Linked DNA regions of Homo sapiens: region 1 is linked to region 2. Evidence: promoter capture Hi-C in 16 types of primary human blood cells and fetal thymus (Javierre and others, 2016). All regions are on one chromosome and are shown on one strand. The core of a region is centred on a gene start or on the middle of the fragment in contact, and the rest is flanking DNA. Distances in the headings are between cores, read along the strand shown.

Region 1 (4,096 bases), core at 1,139-3,638, 520 kb before region 2:
GTGAGCTTACACAAACCTGGATGGTCTAGCCTACTACACACCTAGGCTATGTGGAATAGCCTAGTGCTCCTAGCCTGCAAACCTGTACAGCACTGTACAGGTTGTCATTGTACTGAGTGCTGTAGGCAATGGTAACCCCATGGTAAGTATTTGTATATCTAAGCATATCTAAACATTTAAAAAGCACAGTAAAAATACAGTATCATAATCTTATGGGATCACCATAGTATATGCGGCTGGTTGCTGAGTCAAACATCATTATGCATCACATTACCGTATTAGGTGACTGGTACAGACCACGAGTACCACGAGATTCCAGAAGGTAAACACCACTGCAGGCTGAGACCCATGCAAGGGTGTGGCTCAGCCAGGATAAAGGGTTTCCCAGGCAGAAAGGACTGCTTTGGCAAAGGTGAAGAGGTGCAAATTCTTCTGTATGTTCAGAGCTAATTAGGAGACCAGTGTGACTAGCATCGAGGGGCCAGTGCAGAGAAGTGGGGATGAGGCTGGAAAGATGGGTGGAGACATGATTGGGAAAGGGGCTGAGATGTCTGGAGGAGGAGTGTGGGTATAGGGTCATGGCATGGCAAGGTGGTAACACAGAAGGTTTATATTTTTGGACAACACGATTTCTTGAGGCTTTCCAGTCATTCAGTTTCTTTTTATTTACCAGGTGGATAGAGGTGGTCTTTCTTGACTTGAAGCTTGAAGAATGCCAGAGAAGTCTATTTAGCTCTGCCTATGGGGTCAGGTGGTTCTATCTTCTGACTCTGCATTGGCTGACAAGGATGTGAGTGTCAATATAGGGCGTTTCCCTCCTCCCAGCCCTCTGTGCTGGGCATTTGCTTGAATGCACACAGGGTCACATGTGTCCCTCAAGAGTTTCCATTCATCCACCCTGTGAACATGTATTGGGATGGAAAGGTTAATACTGAATGAGCATTTATTGAACCCTTACTTTATCTCAGGTGCTGCCAAGTACTGGAAGATTTATTTAAGTTTCAAAAAGATCGTAACTGGCCCAGGAAATAGGAGGCTAAGCAAAATGGCACAGGCAAGATTTCTGTTTATGGCTCCCAAAGTGTCAATCCAGTGCTTGGATCCCAACCACACATCTACTGCACTATCTTCTTAGCTTCAGATGCGACGTATGATGTACGCACTTTCTAGTGTATCTTTTGATCTCTAACTTCATCATTGTCCCCAAACAGATTCCAGATGAAGCTGCAAGGGAATAAACTTGGACTTGGTGCCTCCAGCCTGCTGCTCTGTACCCCTTTTCGTCCCTCAGTGGACAATGTGAACATGTAGTACTCACACTTTCCCTGTGCTCCAGGAAAAAATCTGCTCTCAAGAAAATATTTGAAACTTGTTTACTCTAAGATGCACATAAGAGGAAGTATTATAGCTTAAAGTAGCACCTTTCCAGGGTTATTTATATCTTTTTACCTTGAAAAAAACCTCAAAGCCAAAGGATTCCAACTCTAATTTGAGGATTTCAGGCATCTCAGATGATATAAGCAGTAGTATATCCAGGGCACGAGTGACACGTCAGTCCCCCTGCATGCCACAGAGGTGGCCACCTGCCCCATCTATATGAAAAGCTGGCCTTGATCTCTGTTCTCCAGGGCCTGCCATCATCATAACAAGCTCCAAACTCCCATCTCCCTGTGATTCCTGAGAAAAGTTTAGGAGGTAAGAGCATTTGAGTAGACTGAGGATACAGAGAGCAGCAGCCAGGCCATGATCAGAGAGGAAGCAAGTTTGATGAATTTGTCCATAGTCCTGAGTTCTAATCTCAGCTCCATCGGTTTCCAGTTGCCTGACCTCAGGAAAGATACCTTATCTGTAAGCTCAGTTTTCAATCTTTAAAACAGAACTTATCATACCCTCCTCGTAGAACAGTGCCAACATAGTGTGATAATGGGTAATTCCTCATGATGGTGATGATACTCATGCCCCAAGCTTTGCTGGGACACTAAACATCCCAGAGCTGGATTCTCTAAAACCTGGAATATTCCCTGCAGATGATCTTAATTGCAGGCTATTAGTCTTCCCAGCAACATACTCAGGCTGCCAGCCCAAATGCTGTAACTTCACAAGACACCGAAATGTAGGTGAGGGCAATGCTCCTCTCAGGAGAATGCTATACTGGTGGTTGATCGACATTGACAGCAGGTGTGAGGAGACATTTTTGCTGGCCATCCAATATCTCTGGTCCTCTGGTAATTCAAATTACTTTCCAAATGTCACTGCATCTGTCTGAATCTGACAGGTCTTCAAACCAGGGCCCTGTCTCAGAGTTTGAAGACCTGGACATATTCCTGAAGGGGCTTTTGATCTTCATTTCTTTCCATGTGGGAGGGTCCTTTGTCAAACAAAGGCCAGACTCATGAAACCTGCAGACAAAAAACCTAGTGACAGGTAGTCTGGCAGGTGAAGACAGTAACACTTCCTCTGCAGGCATCCGGCTAGTTGGATAAGATACATGACATTCCTGAAAATGAACAGTTGGAAAAATACTTATACTGCTCTTCCAGCCCACTACAGCATCATCCCCACTTATTTTGAAACTTGACTTCTAGTAACTTCCAAGATGTGCAAGCAAAGAAAGCCCTGGATACCTGAAATAACTATTGCATGATCCTACACCAAATTCATGGACTGTATTGCTTGGAAGAAGAACCAAGAAACTCATTCAAGGCCTCCTCACTCCTGCTTAACATAAAAATCTAACAGTCTCACATATTTGATTTCCTAGTCACAGCAAATTGGATGTTGCATGTATAAGACCTACAGGAGGCGGAAGAGGAAAGCTTTAGATAAAGCTCAATAACAGCAATGCGAATTGACAACTGACAGCCCGATAGTAGAGGAAATAAACAAAGTTAAGTGAGAAGAGGCATTGTGGGTGCTGGGCGGTCATAAAAATTAGTCAAGGTCATGCAGAAAGAGTTAAATTCTGGTGTGTATCTAAGAAGGTGAGGAGGTGTAGAATGCATTTTAGAAAGTCTTCCATTCAGAATGGCTAAAATAAATGAAATTTTGGCTTTAGAAAGAACAAGCTTGGGATTTCAGGGAAATTCACTTAAGTGGAACACGGTACTCCCCTGACAGTGGAAGATAAATGAGGCTGCTCTGTACCTGCAAAGGCTGCCACGATGGGCTGGGAAAGTAAAATAGACACCTGTAAACTTTTCAGCAGCTCATAATGTTCTGAAATTTCCCCATATCCTCCCAACAGCAGGCTGGCCTGTGCCCTGCTGGAGGAGTTGCTGTGCGTGCATTGAACAGTAAGGCGAGAGCCTCTCCTTTAATGCCACCTGGCACAGAGACGTGCCAGGCCCCATGGGAACAGATGCCATGAGATACCTTGCTGGGCATGTGGCTTCTGCTTCTCCTCTGCTGTTCCTTCAGCCTTTCACCTCCTTCAGCACAGTGCCCCCAAAGCTGGAGTGTCCATGTTGCTGACAGCTATCGACCATCAGCAGACCCTCAGCATTTACTCATGAGGCAGCAGTTCTCCAGATTCTCAGAGGTTTAACCCAAACACACCCTACTCACACCACTCGCCTTGTAGAGCCACAGCCCCCCATCCAAGCTCCAGCGGTGGCCAGGAGCTATTTTAAGGACACTGACCTAGGCTGGTCTCTTTATGATAGTGGTTGTTCTCAGTGTTAGCTTACATATCAGATCCACCTGGAGAGTGCTTCCCAACCCACCACCACTACTCAAGAATCAGCTCCAGTTGATTTGGGGTGGCCCTAGCATTCGTCTTTTTGAAAAGCTCCCCCATGATTCAAACGTGCAGCCAGGGTTGAGAACCACCAGCCTACACTGGAGCCAGATAGGAACAGATGTGATCTGGGCCCTCCAAGAAAGGCCTCCATGCCCTGATGTGTCTGCCATGTGGGACCGCAACTGAGGTGGAGGCTGGCTTTATTGAGCTACATAAAGGCCTTTAAAATTCATATACTGGCCGGGCACAGTGGCTCACACCTGTGATGCTAGCACTTTGGAGGCCCAGGTGGGCAGATTGCTTGAGCCCAAGAGTTCGAGACCAGTGTGGGCAACATGGTGAAAACCCATCTCTACA
Region 2 (4,252 bases), core at 607-3,106:
GTGTTTTTATTATTTTTAATTGACACATAATAATATACATATTTGTGGGAAGGGGAGGGGAGACGGGTTGCCAGAGGTTGGTTAAAGGAAATTCTTAAATTACAAGTAATTTAAATACTTGATGCTGCAGGCTAGCCCCCATTTCATGGGTTGATGAACCCTAATATTTCCATTTTTCTTACTCAATTATTAAATAAACTATTAAATAAGCATGCCCAGCTGAGGTTATATCACTGAACAGGGAGAGAAAAAACTCAAGTTCTGATAGGATTGATCGAGAGATTGGCCAGCTGTGTCTGTTTGGGGTGGGGGATGCAGGGACAGAGTAGGGAGATGAAAGGCCTTCATTTATGGAGATGGGCACAGAGCTCCCAGACAGCACCATGTAACCCTCGTATGGGTTTCACCATGTAATGCTGAAACATCCCAACACCCAGAGCAAACGCAGGAAAGGTAAACGGGCCAATCCCAAGCAGGCATGCCTGGAAAAAACCACACTTCCCTTTTCCTGAGTCTTAAATCTGTCTAACACCACCAGCTTGCCATCTTCCCGGTGTAAAAGTTTTTCTTTTACTGAAGGCTATAATTAAGTGGACTCTTTCTCTCCTGCAAACAAAATATTAATAACCTCAGTGGCTGAATTAGAAATGCCCCAATGTGATGCTGGTGAATAGGGCAGGTGGAGGACAACGTGAGGCCCTTAGACTAGGAGACACAAACTCTGGATTCCGGGCCTGGTCCCACGTTGCCTTCAGTCTGTTTTTACTGGGCACCTAAGCCCCGGGGGTGCGGAAGGAAAGTCAGTCTCTGCTCTCCCGGGAACGTACAGTTTATCTAGAAAGACGAAGTGCACTAGCCCCTGTGCACTGTGGCAGGAGTTTAAAAAGCAGTGAACTCAAGATATTAAGGAAACACAAAGGAAACTTTCCTTGGCTTTTACCCTTGAACCTCGCTGAACTTCTTAGATTCCGTTCATTAAAATTAGAATAATAATTCCTTGTTAATATACTTTGTGGCGTTGCAGGATCCCAAGGGCCAAAGCTCCCAGAAAAATATAAAGAACAACTCAAGGTAGGGATTTTTGATTGGTGAGGTAATGATGCTAATCTGTACATTGAAAAGACTGTTTCATTTCAGCTGTGCTATAGGAAAGCAAACAGTTGCAACTCGCCAGTACCTTATCAAGGAGAGAAAAAAAAAAAGGCCGCGCATGGTGGCTCATGCCTGTAATCCCAGCAGTTTGGGAGGCCGAGGCAGGAGGATTGCTTGAAGCCAGAGTTTGAGACCAGAAATACCAAGACCCTGTCTTTACTAAAAATAAAATTGTCAAGTGTCGTGGCGTGCGCCTGTGGTCCCAGCTACTCAGCAGGGTGAGGTGGGAGGATCGCTTAAGCCCAGGAGTTCGAGGCTGTAGTGAGCTATGATCGTGCCACTGCACTCCAGCCTGGGCAAAAGAGCGAGACCTTGTCTCTAAAAAAACCAAAACGAACCAGGTTCGGCCTAATGCAGAAGGAAATCCGGAGCAATCCCCAAAGTCAACGCCTTGGAAAGGTTCGCCCTGGGTCTCAGTACTCCGGGGCATGCGCGTCCTGCCGCTCGCTCTCGGGGAGCTCCCACCAACACCGCCCTCATCCCCAGCCCCAGGACGGATACCCAAGACCGAGGTCCAGGACCGCACCGACCAAGTCGCGGGCGATCCCTGGCGGCCAGCTACGGCCATTGACCGCTGGGAGCGCGAGGGGCGGGGCGCAGAGCGAGCGCGGGGCGGGGGTGTGGTCTTCTCGCGTGAATTGATGGCGTCATCGAAGCGACGGCCCGGAAGGAAGTCGCGTGCTGAGGGGTGTGACGGTTTTCTTGCTCGTGGGCTCGGACGAGTACGGAGCGCCTGCAGGGACAGCCTGGTACGCGGCCCCCGCCCCTTCGTGCGCGCGCTGGGCCTAGCTGCCGCTCAGGGTCGGGGCTGACCCGTCACTTTCGGGAACCTCAGTCCCAGCAGCTTCTCTCCCTCAGCCGGCCCGCTCCTGGAGAGAGACAGAAACCCTTTTCTGTCGCGTCCTCTCCTTGCGAGCCGCAGGGGGACCGAGCGGAGGCTATTGGAGCCGCAGCCCCAGACCAGGGCGCTTGACCCTCTCTCGGAACGGGGCGGGGAAGGGGCGCGAGTGACCTCGGGGAGGGAAGGGCACTGGCAGGAAAGGACGCAACTGCAGATCGGTAGCCGGAGGCCGCCACGGTAAAATAAGCGCCTCGCAGATGTCCGCGCCCCGGTTACGTTAGACCTGGGAGGCAGAATCCACGCCCTGCGCTCACGGGCCCACGCACGCACAGCTGAACTTTGCAGTCAGTCACCATAGTTCCAGATCATTCAGCGTTCAGGATCCCACTCCTCCGCGTCCTGGTGCCTGAACGCGGTTGGACCTAGGAGCCTAGAGGCTCGCAGTTTGGGACATTGCCTTTCTCTCTGACCACGGGCTTGGGGATCTGTCAGGTGCAAAGTGCCAAAGTATATGGGGGGGAGTGTGGCTTCAGGCTTGTTCAGAGCCCTGTCCTGTTTAGGGCCAAAGGAATAACTGGGAAGGTGGATGCGAGGCCAACGAATCCTACCTTGAAACTCTGCTCGCCTGCTGGCTCTGCCACTCCAGCATCTGAAAGGAGTAAATAATGGTTTCCTTTGAAACTGCAGGCAATTAGGAGTGGGAGACTCTGACCAGAATTACATAGCCACAACTGCCTGTCATTTGGCATCCTCTGTAATTTGGGCCAAAGTACTGCAGCTGCCTCTCTTCCCTACTACTGGTAGGAAAGGTTCAGTGACAGCACATTCGTGTTCACAGGAAGACAAGGCTGTGTTCTGAACCCTACCCAGCTGGCACGGGTTCTCCCTTGAGCAACGGCTGTATCCGGAGCCAGTGCTTCCTCAGTGCGGTGGGGGCTCTAATTTTACAGTTAAAGAAAGGGGAACGTTGACTGAGAACGAGGAGGAAGCGAGTTGTAGATCTAGCCTTGTGTTCACACGACACCAGGCTGGATATGAGTCACTCGCAGGGAGCTCAGCTTGGTGAGGTCCTCTCGCTGTTGTGGCCTTTTCTCCTGCACGTTGGACCACACACATTTTCCCGTGTCTTTTCCCTAGGATAAAGGCTCACTGATGGCTCAGTTGGGAGCAGTTGTGGCTGTGGCTTCCAGTTTCTTTTGTGCATCTCTCTTCTCAGCTGTGCACAAGATAGAAGAGGGACATATTGGGGTATATTACAGGTAAGGCAGAGACAGGGAGAAGCCGGCAACTTCCTGTTAAATAGCTCCCTTTCCTGGTCATTGCTTTCCTAGCAGATTCTGCTGAACATCTCTATTTATATTTCCTTGAATAGGGGAGCCTTTTCAGATGGAGCTTTTTATGTCAGTAACCACGGGAAAGAGAATACACACACACACATATATATGTAAATTTAGAACTTCACTTAGTAGTCCAAGATGATGCCATGGGTGGTGATTAATAAATGTGTATATAGATTTAGAGACAAAATCTAAAGGAAACTGGTGCTCCTCATTGATCATCCCTAAAATACTGTTTTCTCCTACATTCCTCTGGCAGTCTTAGCTCTACATCCCTCTGGCAGTCTTAGCTCTACATCCCTCTGGCAGTCTTAGCTCTACACTGCTAGGTTACCTTTACAAAAGCCAGCTGAGTACCAGTTCTTGATGGCAACTTGAGAAGGTAGCCTACTCTGCTAATTTGGGATGCTCTTTTAAAATTAACATTTCAGCCAGCCTGGGTCACATAGTGAGACCCTATCTCTAAAAAAATAAAATAAAAAATAAAATTTTAATTGGCCGGCTGTGGTGTCACACACACGTAGTCCTAGCTACTCAGGAGGCTTAGATGGGAGGATCACCTGAGCCCAGGAGATTGAGACCAGCCTGAGCAACATAGTGAGAGCCCATCTCTACAAAAAGTAAAAAATTAGCCGAGCATGGCAGCACGTGCCTGTAATCCCAGTTATTTGGGGGGCTGAGGTGGGAGGATCACTTGAGCCCAGAAGTTTGAGGCTGCAGTGAGCTATGATCACACCACTGCACTCCAGCCTGGGTGACAGAGCAAGACCCTGTCTCTAAAAATAAAATAATATTAACATTTCAAGAAAAATGAAAGAGCCTGCAGGTTGACTTACGTCAATCAAAGCAAGCCTTAGGATAGTGGTTCCTACAATAAAGGAACCCATTATGTCACTGTTTATTTTATTGGTTTTTTTTTTAA

Evidence for each region. Contacts are between HindIII fragments. The CHiCAGO score rates a contact against its expected background, and 5 or more counts as called.
Region 1: a fragment that was not itself captured here is called in contact with the fragment with the promoter of ERLIN2 in region 2 in 2 of 17 cell types (M1 macrophages and M0 macrophages); the score reaches 6.7 in M1 macrophages.

What each region holds. Positions count from the first base shown.
Region 1 is chr8:37,216,417-37,220,512 of GRCh38, forward strand. No RefSeq gene overlaps it. Among named protein-coding and RNA genes, the nearest start is that of LINC01605, 380 kb to the right of the region's middle. The HindIII fragment of the contact is 851 bases long and covers 1,964-2,814 here.
Region 2 is chr8:37,734,778-37,739,029 of GRCh38, forward strand. ERLIN2 (ER lipid raft associated 2) reads left to right here and starts at 1,857. Exons shown (of 12, transcript NM_007175.8): 1 at 1,857-1,901; 2 at 3,131-3,252. The coding sequence starts at 3,146. It overlaps LOC102723701 (a long non-coding RNA gene), which reads right to left and starts at 2,649. Exons shown (of 2, transcript NR_125821.1): 1 at 2,602-2,649; 2 at 1-2,021. RefSeq lists enhancers at 1,730-1,939, 2,419-3,211. The HindIII fragment of the contact is 8,102 bases long and covers 1-4,252 here.